Linked DNA regions of Homo sapiens: region 2 is linked to region 1. Evidence: promoter capture Hi-C in 16 types of primary human blood cells and fetal thymus (Javierre and others, 2016). All regions are on one chromosome and are shown on one strand. Each heading gives the region's core, a stretch centred on a gene start or on the middle of the fragment in contact. The rest is flanking DNA. Distances are from core to core; before and after follow the strand shown.

Region 1 (5,695 bases), core at 2,864-5,363:
AAGTTACAATGGAGTTTCCCTACAATTTTAGTCCTCAGACATGAAGCCATAGTAAAGTGACCTTGTATTCACGGATATTTTTTTTTTTTTCTTTCAAAAAATCAATTGTGGAAGACAGTGTGGTGATTCCTCAAGGATCTAGAACTAGAAATACCATTTGACCCAGCAATCCCATTACTGGGTATATACCCAAAGGATTGTAAATCATGCTACTATAAAGACACATGCACACATGTTTATTGCGGCACTATTCACAATAGCAAAGACTTGGAACCAACCCAAATGTCCATCAATGATAGACTGGATTAAGAAAATGTGGCACATATATACCATGGAATACTATGCAGCCATAAAAAAGGATGAGTTCATGTCCTTTGTAGGGACATGGATGAAGCTGGAAACCATCATTCTGAGCAAACTATCACAAAGACAGAAAACCAAACACCGCATGTTCTCACTCATAGGTGGGAATTGAACAATGAGAACACTTGGACACAGGGTGGGGAACATCACACACCGGGGCCTGTCATAGGGTTGGGGGAGTGGGGACGGATAGCATTAGGAGGAATACCTAATGTAAAGGACGAGTTAATGGGTGCAGCACACCATCATGGCACATGTATACATATGTTAACAAACCTGCACGTTTTGCACATGTACCCTAGAACTTATTTAAAAAACAAACAAAAAAAAGGCCTCCTTAAGGGGATCCTCATTCCAGTTGTATATGTTCTATTGATACCACTACTAAGGAATACAGTTTTTTAAAATATATATAATGTTTCTTATATTTAAAACCAAGAAGTGAAGAGTAGAATGCATTTTCTGTTTTCGCTCTTTGCCCAGACATCAAGTTGATAATCATATGGTTATCTGTGATATGCATCAGCTCATAAGTAACCCTTTGGTATGTGAACATGGGGAATTTTAAAATACTGGGCTCTTCAATATGGATTTGTGTTACACTCATGTCATCATCTCATGCCTTCCAAGATTTCAAAGGATCTGATGGCTGTAATTGCAGAGAATAAATGAGTAATCTTTAGTCTATTTCAGAAATAGAAGGCCACATGATTCCCTTTCCATAAAGGACTAAGGTTTCATCCAATGCCAACTCTGGTAAGGCCTTAGTCATTTTTGTGGGTGAAATCTGATTCGATGCAAGCAATGTTATTTTCATTTCTGAAAATTATCTATGTCCAGTGCATCAATCCCCCAGTAGGTCCACACTCCAATAAAAAGATTTGAAATGGAAAAAAAAAATCAATTGTAGTTTAACTACCCATTGGATGTTGGATACTATCTCTAAGTGGCTGTTTAACTTAAATTTGAATACTTTTACTGGCAGGAAGCTTACTACATTCCAAGGTGCTTTATTCCATCTTTGGACATATCACTTAGAAAGTTTATCTATCTGAGTAAACTCTGTCTCTTTCAAGGTTCAAGTTTTTTCCTCCATACGAGAAGAAAATCTATTTTTCTCTTCCAGATGAAAGCCATTCAAATATTTAAAATATCTGTTTCCTAAAACTTTTAAGTCAGTAAAATGCATTCAATGGAATTTAAGATGAAGCTTATATTTCACTACATCTCACAGAAGTAGTAGGCTCCAACCCTATACATCTAGAATTAAATGATACAGTACACAAGAATGTACAATGACAACCATGAAGCACCTATAAACATAAGAACAATTACTGAGTCTCCCAAATTAGCAAAGAACAGAAACTATGCCATGTTTGTTTTTTTAAAAAACCATACTTCTCTCCCCTAACAACATAGTATGATACTATGTGGTTCAGTTTATAAAAGGTTTACTGACTGCCTGCTGTATGTCAGGTACTATGTTAGGAATAAAATGTGAATTCATGCGCCTTACAAGCAAGGAGCTTAAGTTAAATGTATAAGTAATAACCAACCAAGTGTTTACCAGGCAGCTTCAACACTAACTGGCATTATGTTTGGTGGGAGCGCTAAGAATTAATGAACATTTTCAAAAGAGATCTTGGTGAGGGAGGGGGAACCTTAGTCCCACTCAAATAAAAGGATCTGAGCAGCCCCTATCCTCCTTCTTTCTATTCATATCTTTACAAAGCCATGGCAAAATAAACAACAAATGTGATAAACATGAAAGGAAAATGAGCTTACTTTTCTTCAAAAACAAGCACACATGGCCAGGCGCAGTGGTTCATGCCTATAATCCCAGCACTTTGGAAGGCTAACGTGGGTGGATCGCTTGAGCCCAGGAGTTTCAGACCAGCCTGGGCAACATGGCGAAATGTCATCTCTACCAAAAAACAAACAAACAAACAAACAAACAAACAACCCCACAAAAATTAACAGGGCGTGGTGGTGTGCACCTGTAGTCCCAGCTGCTCCGGAGGCAGAGGTGAGACGATGGCTTGAGCCCAGGAGGCAGAGGTTGCAGTGAGCCGAGATCGTGCCATTACACCACGGCCTGGTCGACAAGAGCCAGACCCTATCTCACAAAGCAAAAAAACAAGCACACAATCTAAAACAATCTCAAGATTTCAATTTGGTTCATTTCGAATTTATTCAAAGTTTCTTACTGCAGAGTGAGACTGGTGAGCTTTCAGGACTGGTTCAGCATCCACCGCTTTTTTAGCAACCATTAACTGTAACATCTGTTTCCGATATTTGCTCATGATAAGTTCCAAAGCATCCTGGTGTTCCTCCAAGGAAATCCATAGCTCTGTCAAAAAATAAAAGAACTTGGCAGTGATGTCTGAGAGACAGTTCCCAAATCCAAAGTCTTAACAGTTGGAATTTTGTAACACTATATAGATAATATGAATCTAAAGTTGTAAATCAATGTTTAAGTCCGCAAAACTGAACAGTTAAAGTCTATGTGAAAGGTAACTTTCTAGGCAGAGAAGCAAAGTCTTGCAGAAACAACAATGGATGTATCATCAGAAGACATGTGTTTGAGTTCAGTTCTGTAACTTGCTTGGTTAATACTCATAAGTAAATCATTTAGCTTCTTCTGAGCCTATTTCTTAACTGCATTGTGGTAGATAAAAATGAAGATATGAGAATACAGTAGAATGATATATGTGAAACCCCTCTGGTAAACAACTATTAATACCACAATCATTAATAATGTACTAATCAAGCCTAAGAATATATACCCTTAGAATAAAATTCTGCTGCTTCACCTTGCACAAACAAGAACATAAACAAAACCTTAAATCTTACCTTCAGTGTTTATATTAATACTTAAACATTAAATTTTAAGTCCATGAGGCTATGAACTCTTTTGTTACACATCTGAGGATGCTTAAAAATAAACCATGCAATAATACCAACTCTACACAGCACCTCTTTGGTAAGCTGCTGCAATATTAGTCAGATGACCTTGAAAAGGGTAATCTAACAAACTTTATTGTTACTGGGCCAGATCAGGAGGACTCTCCTACTAAAAGTACTGACCTGGAAATATATGTACACTTTTGTAAATGTTTAGGGCAATTTTGCAATAACTTTAAACTATTACCAGATATGAAAAGGCCTGACTAACCTCTGTTTTCCTGTTGCAAGTCTCTAATCTGTGTGTTCTCTTGGGACAGCAGAATGTGAGGTTTGTATTTGGACATGTCCTTCATATCGGATGCATCCTCTTGATACTGGACAAATAGAGACAGACTAAGCATGCCTTAAAGAGAACAGCGGCAGATGCAACTGAAGAGGCAGAAGTTAGGGCTCCAGGGCAGGATTCTCAGCCCCGACCCAGGAAAATGGTCTCACCGCCGCCCTCTGAGACCGGGAATAAATTCCAGGCCGAGTTCCCACTTTACCTCGCTCTCCACCCTTCAGTGCCCAGAATCCGAGAGCACTGGACTCCTACCCTCTGCCTGACCTGGTCCGGAAGCGCTGTCCCCGCCTCCCGCATAGCTGCTACCCGCCGGTGCAGCGCCGCCGACTGATCCACCAGCGACTCGGCGGCCGCATCGTGCTCCCGTAGCCTCTCCAGCAGCGTCTTGGCGTCTGTCAGGATCTTCTCGATGGTGCAGCTCATAGCAGCAGCACCACCCCAGCCCCTGCCGGGCTCAGCTACGCGACTCGCTCAGATCTTCTGGGAGTCTGTCTCAGCATTACAGGCGTCATTTCCGGGCACGTTTACAAGGTGTCTTGGTAGGCGCAATGGGCGCCTGCGCAGTGGCAGCCTATTTTGCGGGTTGACCCGCTTTAACCTGCGGCTTCCTTGCAGTCCTTCCTTGCGCGGAGCCCCAGACCTACACTTGCCACGCCGTTGGTTTCCAGTTACCACAGCCTGGTGGTCAGGCTATGATTAGCTGGGCAGTGGGAAGGTCTCCTTTCCCTACTGGTTTTCATTGATGTGGGTTGTTCTTCAGTCACAGTTAGTTTCTTTTTATTTTCATTATTTTTTTCTTTTTTGAGACGGAATCTTGCTCTTGTCCAGGCTGGAGTGCAGTGGCGCGATCTTGGCTCATTGCAACCTCTGCCTCCAGGGTTCAAGCGATTCTCCTGCCTCAGCCTCTCGAGTAGCTGGGATTACAGGCATGCGCCACCACGCCGGCTGATTTTTCTATTTTTAGTAGAAACGGGGTTTCACATGTTGGCCAGGCCGGTTTCGAACTCCTGACCTCAAGTGATCCGCCCGCCTCGGCCTCCCAAAGTGCTGGGATTACAGGTGTGAGCCCCCGCGCCTGGCCTACTTTCATTTAATTTTTTTTAAATTGTGGCAAAATACACATAAAATTTAATATCTCAGCCATTTATAAGTGTACAGTTCAGTTGTACATTCATATTGTTATACAGCCACCATCAGCATCCATCTCTAGAACTCTTTCATCTTGCAGTACTGAAGTTCTGTACTCATTAAACAATAATTCCTCATTCTTCCTTATCCCCAGCTCCTGGCAGCCACCATTCTACTTTGTGTCTCTACAAATCTGACTATTCTGGGTACCTGACATGAGTGAAATCATACAGCATTTGTATTTATATAACTGCCTTATTTCACTTAGTGTAATGTCCACGAGTTTCATCCATATAGTAGCATATGTTAGAATTTCCTTCCTTTTTAAGGCTGAATAATATATATATACCACGTTTTGTTTATCCATTCATCCGTGGATGGACAGTTGGGTTGCTTCCACCTTTTGCTATTGTCAATAATGCTGCTATTGCAACTGGCTCACGTCTGGCTGCTTGCTGCCTAGAGGCCAAAAACATGAGAAGTGACCTGTGGTGAAAGCTTTACTAATCAAATGCTCGCAGATGGGGAATGGCTAGGCTCATGCCTTCAAAACAGCATTCCACTTTTTTTTTTTTTTTGGTCAAGGTATCCCAGAGACAGTATCAGTGTCCAAACTTTAATTTTGTCCCATATCAATGCCAGGGTGGTGTGCTACCTGCCCTGAGTCCATCATGTCCCTCCTGCGGCCAACTGACTTAGAGTCAAAAGAGTTACAGCCAATTAAACGTTCTAGGTCAGATGGGAAGGAGGTGGGCAGGCACTCATTAACCTTAAAACCCCTCTTAAGCAATGTTAAGAGGCAAAAACCAAAAGGCAAGGGTTACAAAATTGACTTATCTATAAATTCTATGCATTGAGCTGCTGTAATCTTGGCTTGTTGCAATTAGCTATACAAAATGCAAGCATTTTGTTTAGCTGTTTTGGCATCTGTGTCATCCTTGATTTGTAGGGTCT
Region 2 (5,701 bases), core at 2,398-4,897, 2.1 Mb before region 1:
ATCCAGGTTTTTTAAGACTGCAGATTTACTTCCTAACTTTTACTGGTTCCAGCAGGGAGAATGAAGCAAAGACAGGGGTAGGAATGGGGAAGGACATACTAGGTCATTCAGTGACTGGGGGGCGGGGTCTCAGGGTGGGGTGGGAAGGGCATTTCTGCCTTCACCTGCTTGCCGTCCACCTCAATGTCCGCAATATAGTTCTCAAAGACAGTAGGGACGTAGACCTCCGGAAACTGATCCTTGCTGAAGACGATGAGGAGGCAGGTCTTCCCACAGGCACCATCCCCAACGATCACCAGCTTCTTTCGGATTGCAGCCATGGTGGGGCTGCCAGGAAAGACGTATTGGGGATTTGAGGAAAAGCCATTAAGTCCAAAAACACTTCTCTAGGGCCCCCAAACCTCCCTGGAAACCGAGGCATCTAGCAAAGGGACAGGGGGCTTGCTCAGGCATGTTCTGGCAAAACACCAATTGTGCGACAACAGAGCTTGAAATTCCTAATCTCTGGGTCAGGGACAGGTCTCCCTCGATGGGTTAGAATACAGTGGTGGGAGGTAGATGATGACCCCACTTGGGAGCTGGAAAACATGAGTTTCAATCTAATCCACTTGCCAACCTGGGGACTCCAGGTAGCTAGAGAGCTGCTCAGGGATGCGGGACGTCCAGGGAGCAAGCTTCTATCTACTTCACACATCAGGGTTTCGAGTCAGACTTCATTGGTTACCAGGATTTTGATGCATTTACAGTTTAATAATCTCTAAGGTCCAATCTAGAACAGACTGTCCCTCAGCACAAGTCATACCTGTCCAGTCACAAATGAGGAGTCCCTCTCTAGGACCAGAGTAGCAGAACCAGCTACCAGGTGGTAGGTGGGTAAAGGAAGAATAGTTATAGAGCCCCTAGGTGCCAGGCACTCTGTCGGGCATTTTGGCAGGAATTATCTCCTTCGGTACCCAGATGCCTGGAAGGTAGATGGTGCACTTTCCATTTTGACAAACCAGGAAACTAAGGCTCAGTGAGGTTAAGACAGATTCAGAGCTGTGGCTTATAAGGGGCAGGGACAGCACCCAAAGCAGGACTGTGTGACTCAAAGTCGTGCCTCTTCGACATGTCACCTCAGGGGCAGGAGGGAGAGCAGAAGCAGGGAAACCCAGACAGAGGACAGGGGTAGCAGCCAGCCAGCTTCCCTGGTCCACCCCACCCGGTCCCCAAAGCCCCAAGTAATACAAAGGAGGCTCAGTCCCAGCAATGCCCACAGCTCGAGTTTGGGCAGGCTGCCTTCCTCCCCCCTTCCTCCTAGGCCTGCCAGCAACACTGGGTCACTCAGCCCCCGGCAGGGGACAATGACCACACTGTAGGGAGCCACACATCTACCACAGCACAGTGACTGAGAAGAATCCACCAGGGAATCACCTCCACCCACTCTGGAACAGCCCCTTCCTCCCTCAGTCCAGCTCACCCGCATGCCCTGCCCACCCCTCCCTGTGACTCAGGGCAAGGAGTCAGCTTCCCGGGCTTCCATGTGTCCCCCACCCCCAGCACACACAGCGAGCATCTGCACAGTTCATCACACCTTCGCAGCTTCCCTCACTTCCTCCTTCCCTGGGGAGGGGAACTGACCTCCAGCCGGCTGAAGTTCCCAGGCTGCAGGAAGAGAGGGCGGGCTCTGGAGCTGAGATGAAGTCAAGGCTGTTGGGAAGGGGGAGGGGGCTAGAGTCTGGGCTGGGAGGAGCCCCAAAAGAAGAGACAAATGAGGGCCAGTCCCAGCACCAACCAGGCAGGGAGCAGTTAAGAAAGCGACGGTAACCTGATCTCAGCCTCAAACCTAGCTTTTTCTCTCAGTCCCACATCCTGTCAAACTGGGCTGACTGAACGCCTCTACTCCCCACACCCCACCACCACCTCACACTGCCCTTTAGGAAGCGAATACTCCAGCCCCAGGCCTCTTCCCTTCAACATAGATCCTGAGTGGCCCTTCCCTTGCCTCCAGACACATTCACAAAACTGTTGGTTTTGTGGACATGAGTCAGAGAATTTACAGGAGTTCAAAGTACACAGCCACACTCTTCCCACCACAAAACGGACTCTCTCTGATTCCCCAGAAGACAAGCAAGAAGGCATTCACCCTGTCGGCAGATCGCCTCCAGAAATGGAAACCATCCTCCAAAAAGAGGGTTCCTTGGGAATTCTATCCCGGTGACTGACGCTGGGATTTCTTCCAACTCCTCCACCCACTCCATTAGTTCACCTTGCCCTGTTTTGTAAAGATGGGCTGGGGTAGCCCCAACCTGGGGTGGGCAGTGTTGATGGAGGGCAATCACTACTGGGGTGAAAGCCAGTCACTTAGGCATGAGTATGCCACTGCTGTCCCCCCAGCAGGGTAATTCAGACGGCACCAGAGTGGTGGGAGGCAGAGGACAGAAACCCGGGGTTGAGGCATGCGTTAAGGGACCTGGAGCCTCCAGCCCAATTAGAAGACTTTCCCTCCAGGCTATGATTGGGCCAGAACAGCAGGCAGCCCAGGCCAGGACACTAGGCCCAAGGCCAAGATGGCATGGACAACTCCCTGTGAGAGGCAGCCCCAGAGGGACTGTCCCACTGACCCCTTAAGAGGGGCAACTGAGCCCCACACAGGGCCTGGAATGGAGCCTGGAACTTCTGGGGCCTTCCCCAAGACAAGACAGTGTGGCTACATCAGACCTCTCTCCAATCGCTCTCTTGAATTCCCAGATGATCCAGAGCGGCCGGTTGACTTTGCCGGCCCACCCTACACCTAGGGAAGGAATCCGTTCTGGAGATACCAAGAGATACTGCATTCTCAACTTTAAAACCAGAGTGAGGGCGGGACTCGGCCTCGGGATCCCAGTCCCAAACCCCAGGATACTCTTTCTTGGTTCGAGTATGAAGAAGGAGGATTCTCAATCTCATTTTCTCTCTCTCTCTCTCTCTCTACACACACACACACACACACACACACACACACACCACACACACACACACACACACACACACACACACACACACACACACACACACACACACACACACACACACACACAGAGTTGGATCCTTCCCCATCTCCCTTATCCTCAACACAAGCGGGCTCCAGGAACCGTCCAGGGCGGCGTCCAGACCCTGCCGAGCAGTGGCAGGCCCCAATGGTCACATCCCGCCCCTATTCCCGCCATACCTCCCTCCTGGCCTGGAGGAATTCCCACCCCATCCCACTCTAGGTCCCCTGCGGCCGCCCACCCTGGGGGCTGGGGCGTCTGAGTTGAAGTTCCCTCGCCCCTCGCCCGGCGGGGCAGGTTCCGGGAAGCTGGGAGGAGAAGGGAAGGGGCTCCGACTCGGACCTCAGGAGGCCAGAGCCCCTGCCGGCAGGTCCGGGCCCCCTCGCTGCAGCCCGGGGAGGGGCCGACGCGGTCCGACCACCGCCCAGCCCGGATGCCGACTCCGCTTGGAGGGAACGGGGTCCACGCCCAGGCCGAAGCCCCTCCTCGCACGGGCCCCGATCTCCGGGCCAGCGAGGAAGGGAAAGTGCTCTCCTGGGGACGAGTTCCCAAGACGCCCCACCGCCCGCAGCCCCGGCCCAGGGTACCTTCCGCTCCGCCGCCTCCAGCTGCGCGGCCGGTGCCGGAGGCTCAGACTGACCCCAGGGCCCCGCCCCGCCCTCCTCCAGCGCCGCGGCGGGGAGGGCGGGCCCGGCAGGGGGAGGGTCGGCCGGGGGCGGCCCTTGGCTCGGCCCGCCCCGGCCCCGCGCAGGGCCGCAGCCACCGGCCCCCTCCGCAGGCCGGGGACTGGGGGCCAGGGGCGTCCACCCCTCCAGGTCGGGGAGAGCCACGGGGAGATTCCTGGACTGCGGAGGAGCCGGGCGAGCGGGGGGAGCACGACCCGGGTGGACTCAGACTCTGCCCAGCCTTCAATCCCCTAGGGGAGGACCGGCGTCGGGAAAGTTAAGAGGTGCTCGGGGTGGGGTCAGGAAGGGCCGCTGCTGCCCTCCTGTGGCCAAGCGGCCACCCGCTCCTGCTGCACCTGGGACCTCGCGGGAAGCGGGACTGGGAAAGGGTATCCGCCGGGAGGTCCCAGGGCCCGGCGCGGGTGTGTTGGTTGGGGGGAGATGTCCACCCTCTTGTTCCTAGGATCGTACAGCCCAACGTCATCCCCCAAACTTGAAGACCTCTCAGAGCCGTTCAGACCCAGACCACCGTTCCTCCTCACAATTCGCTTTCTTCCCTGGGCCTGGAATTTCCAGGAGTCCAATTCCTACCTACTCCTCAAAGGGTGCGCCTAGAAATGCTTCTGGATCCCAGCTGTGAATTCTGTTCCCACTCCTAGGTCTGACTTGGCGCATAGGATATTTACCTACACGCGTATCTCCTTTCCCTGTAAGGGAGCTGAGGAGGTGGGAGTAGAATGAGGACGTCCACCAACATTTCATTGGCTTGTGCTTGGGACACTACACAGCTTAACCCTTTCAATATTCATCACAGATCTCTGGGGAAAATATACCCATCCCCTTTTGCCCATAGAGAAGCTGAGGTTCAGAGAAATCAAGTGGCTTACACAACTGTTTTTGACTTGTGACAGCAAGAATTCACACAGCCGGGCCTGTCTGGCTCCAAACTGGTGGTCTGGCCCTGCTACCTCACGGGCTCCTCCAGCCTGTCCCTTCCCCCGTTGTCTAGCAGAGTGAGTGGCACATAATAGGTTGTCAACAAATATTTGATGAATGAATGAATGTTAGGAGTCATACAGACTTTAAATATCTGAAGTGCAATCCAGACATTTGACAAATGTGAAAACAGGTCCGCAGCAGTTTGGCCCCAGGCCTCTTAACTGACTCAATGAACATTTCTCGAGGGTGAACTGAGAGCTATGTTCGGAAGATCCATTTCTGCCTTCAAACAACTTAGAGTCTAAATGAGGAATGCAATTTCAAGATAGCTAACATTTATTGAATCCATATTACATGGACCTGGGTCCACATACATTAACTACAAGAATCCCATGAGGTAGCTATCTCCATTTTACTGAGAAGCAAATTGAGGTTCAGAGAGGTTACAGAGCTAGTGCTGGGTCTGACACTAGAACCCAAACAGCTGAACTCTAGAGCCCCTGTTCTTAATTCCTACTCCCTACTGACTCCTAATGTAGACAGTTACAATACCGGAGGTCATTGCTGTAGTGTGGGCATGTGTGGGCTGTGCGATACCCAGTCCTGAACAACAGGTGAAGTTCTCAAGATAAGGTGATGTGTAGATTTTTTTAATTTTAATTTTTTTTTGAGACAAGGTCTCTGTTGCCTAAGTGTGCAGTGGCAAGATCTCAGCTCACTGCAGCCTCAACTTTCCAGGCTCCAATGATTTTCCCACTTCAGCTTCCCCAGCAGCTGAGACTACAGGCGTGTACCATCACACCTAATTTTTGTATTTTTTGTACAGATGAGGTCTTGCTATATTGCCCAGGCTGGTGAGGGGCCTTTTCTAATTATTTTGCTCATCTTTATTTTTGCTTCCCTTAACTTACTTTGGGTTTAATTTGCTGTTCTTTTTCTAGCCTCTTAAGGTGGAAACAGATCACTGATTTGAGATCTTTATTCTTTTCTACTATAAGCAATACTCTTAATTTCCTTGGATGCTTAACTGCTTCCCACAGGCACTCACCACTACATTCAGCTAATTTTTTATTTTTTTGTAGAGAT

The links. The method cuts DNA at HindIII sites, captures the fragments that hold promoters and counts their contacts. A CHiCAGO score of 5 or more calls a contact.
Region 2: a contact is called between the fragment with the promoter of RHOC here and the fragment with the promoter of SIKE1 in region 1, in 1 of 17 cell types (total CD8 T cells). The highest score is 5.4, in total CD8 T cells.

The regions. Positions count from the first base shown.
Region 1 is chr1:114,776,572-114,782,266 of GRCh38, forward strand. It overlaps SIKE1 (suppressor of IKBKE 1), which reads right to left and starts at 4,114. Exons shown (of 5, transcript NM_025073.3): 1 at 3,878-4,114; 2 at 3,539-3,644; 3 at 2,571-2,713. The coding sequence starts at 4,036. RefSeq lists enhancers at 3,300-3,866, 3,867-4,432, 3,897-4,136, 4,377-4,496. The HindIII fragment of the contact is 3,666 bases long and covers 1,572-5,237 here.
Region 2 is chr1:112,703,480-112,709,180 of GRCh38, forward strand. It overlaps RHOC (ras homolog family member C), which reads right to left and starts at 3,648. Exons shown (of 6, transcript NM_175744.5): 1 at 3,599-3,648; 2 at 1,621-1,689; 3 at 165-327. The coding sequence starts at 320. RefSeq lists enhancers at 757-1,311, 2,059-2,108 and a silencer at 3,368-4,087. The HindIII fragment of the contact is 12,151 bases long and covers 673-5,701 here.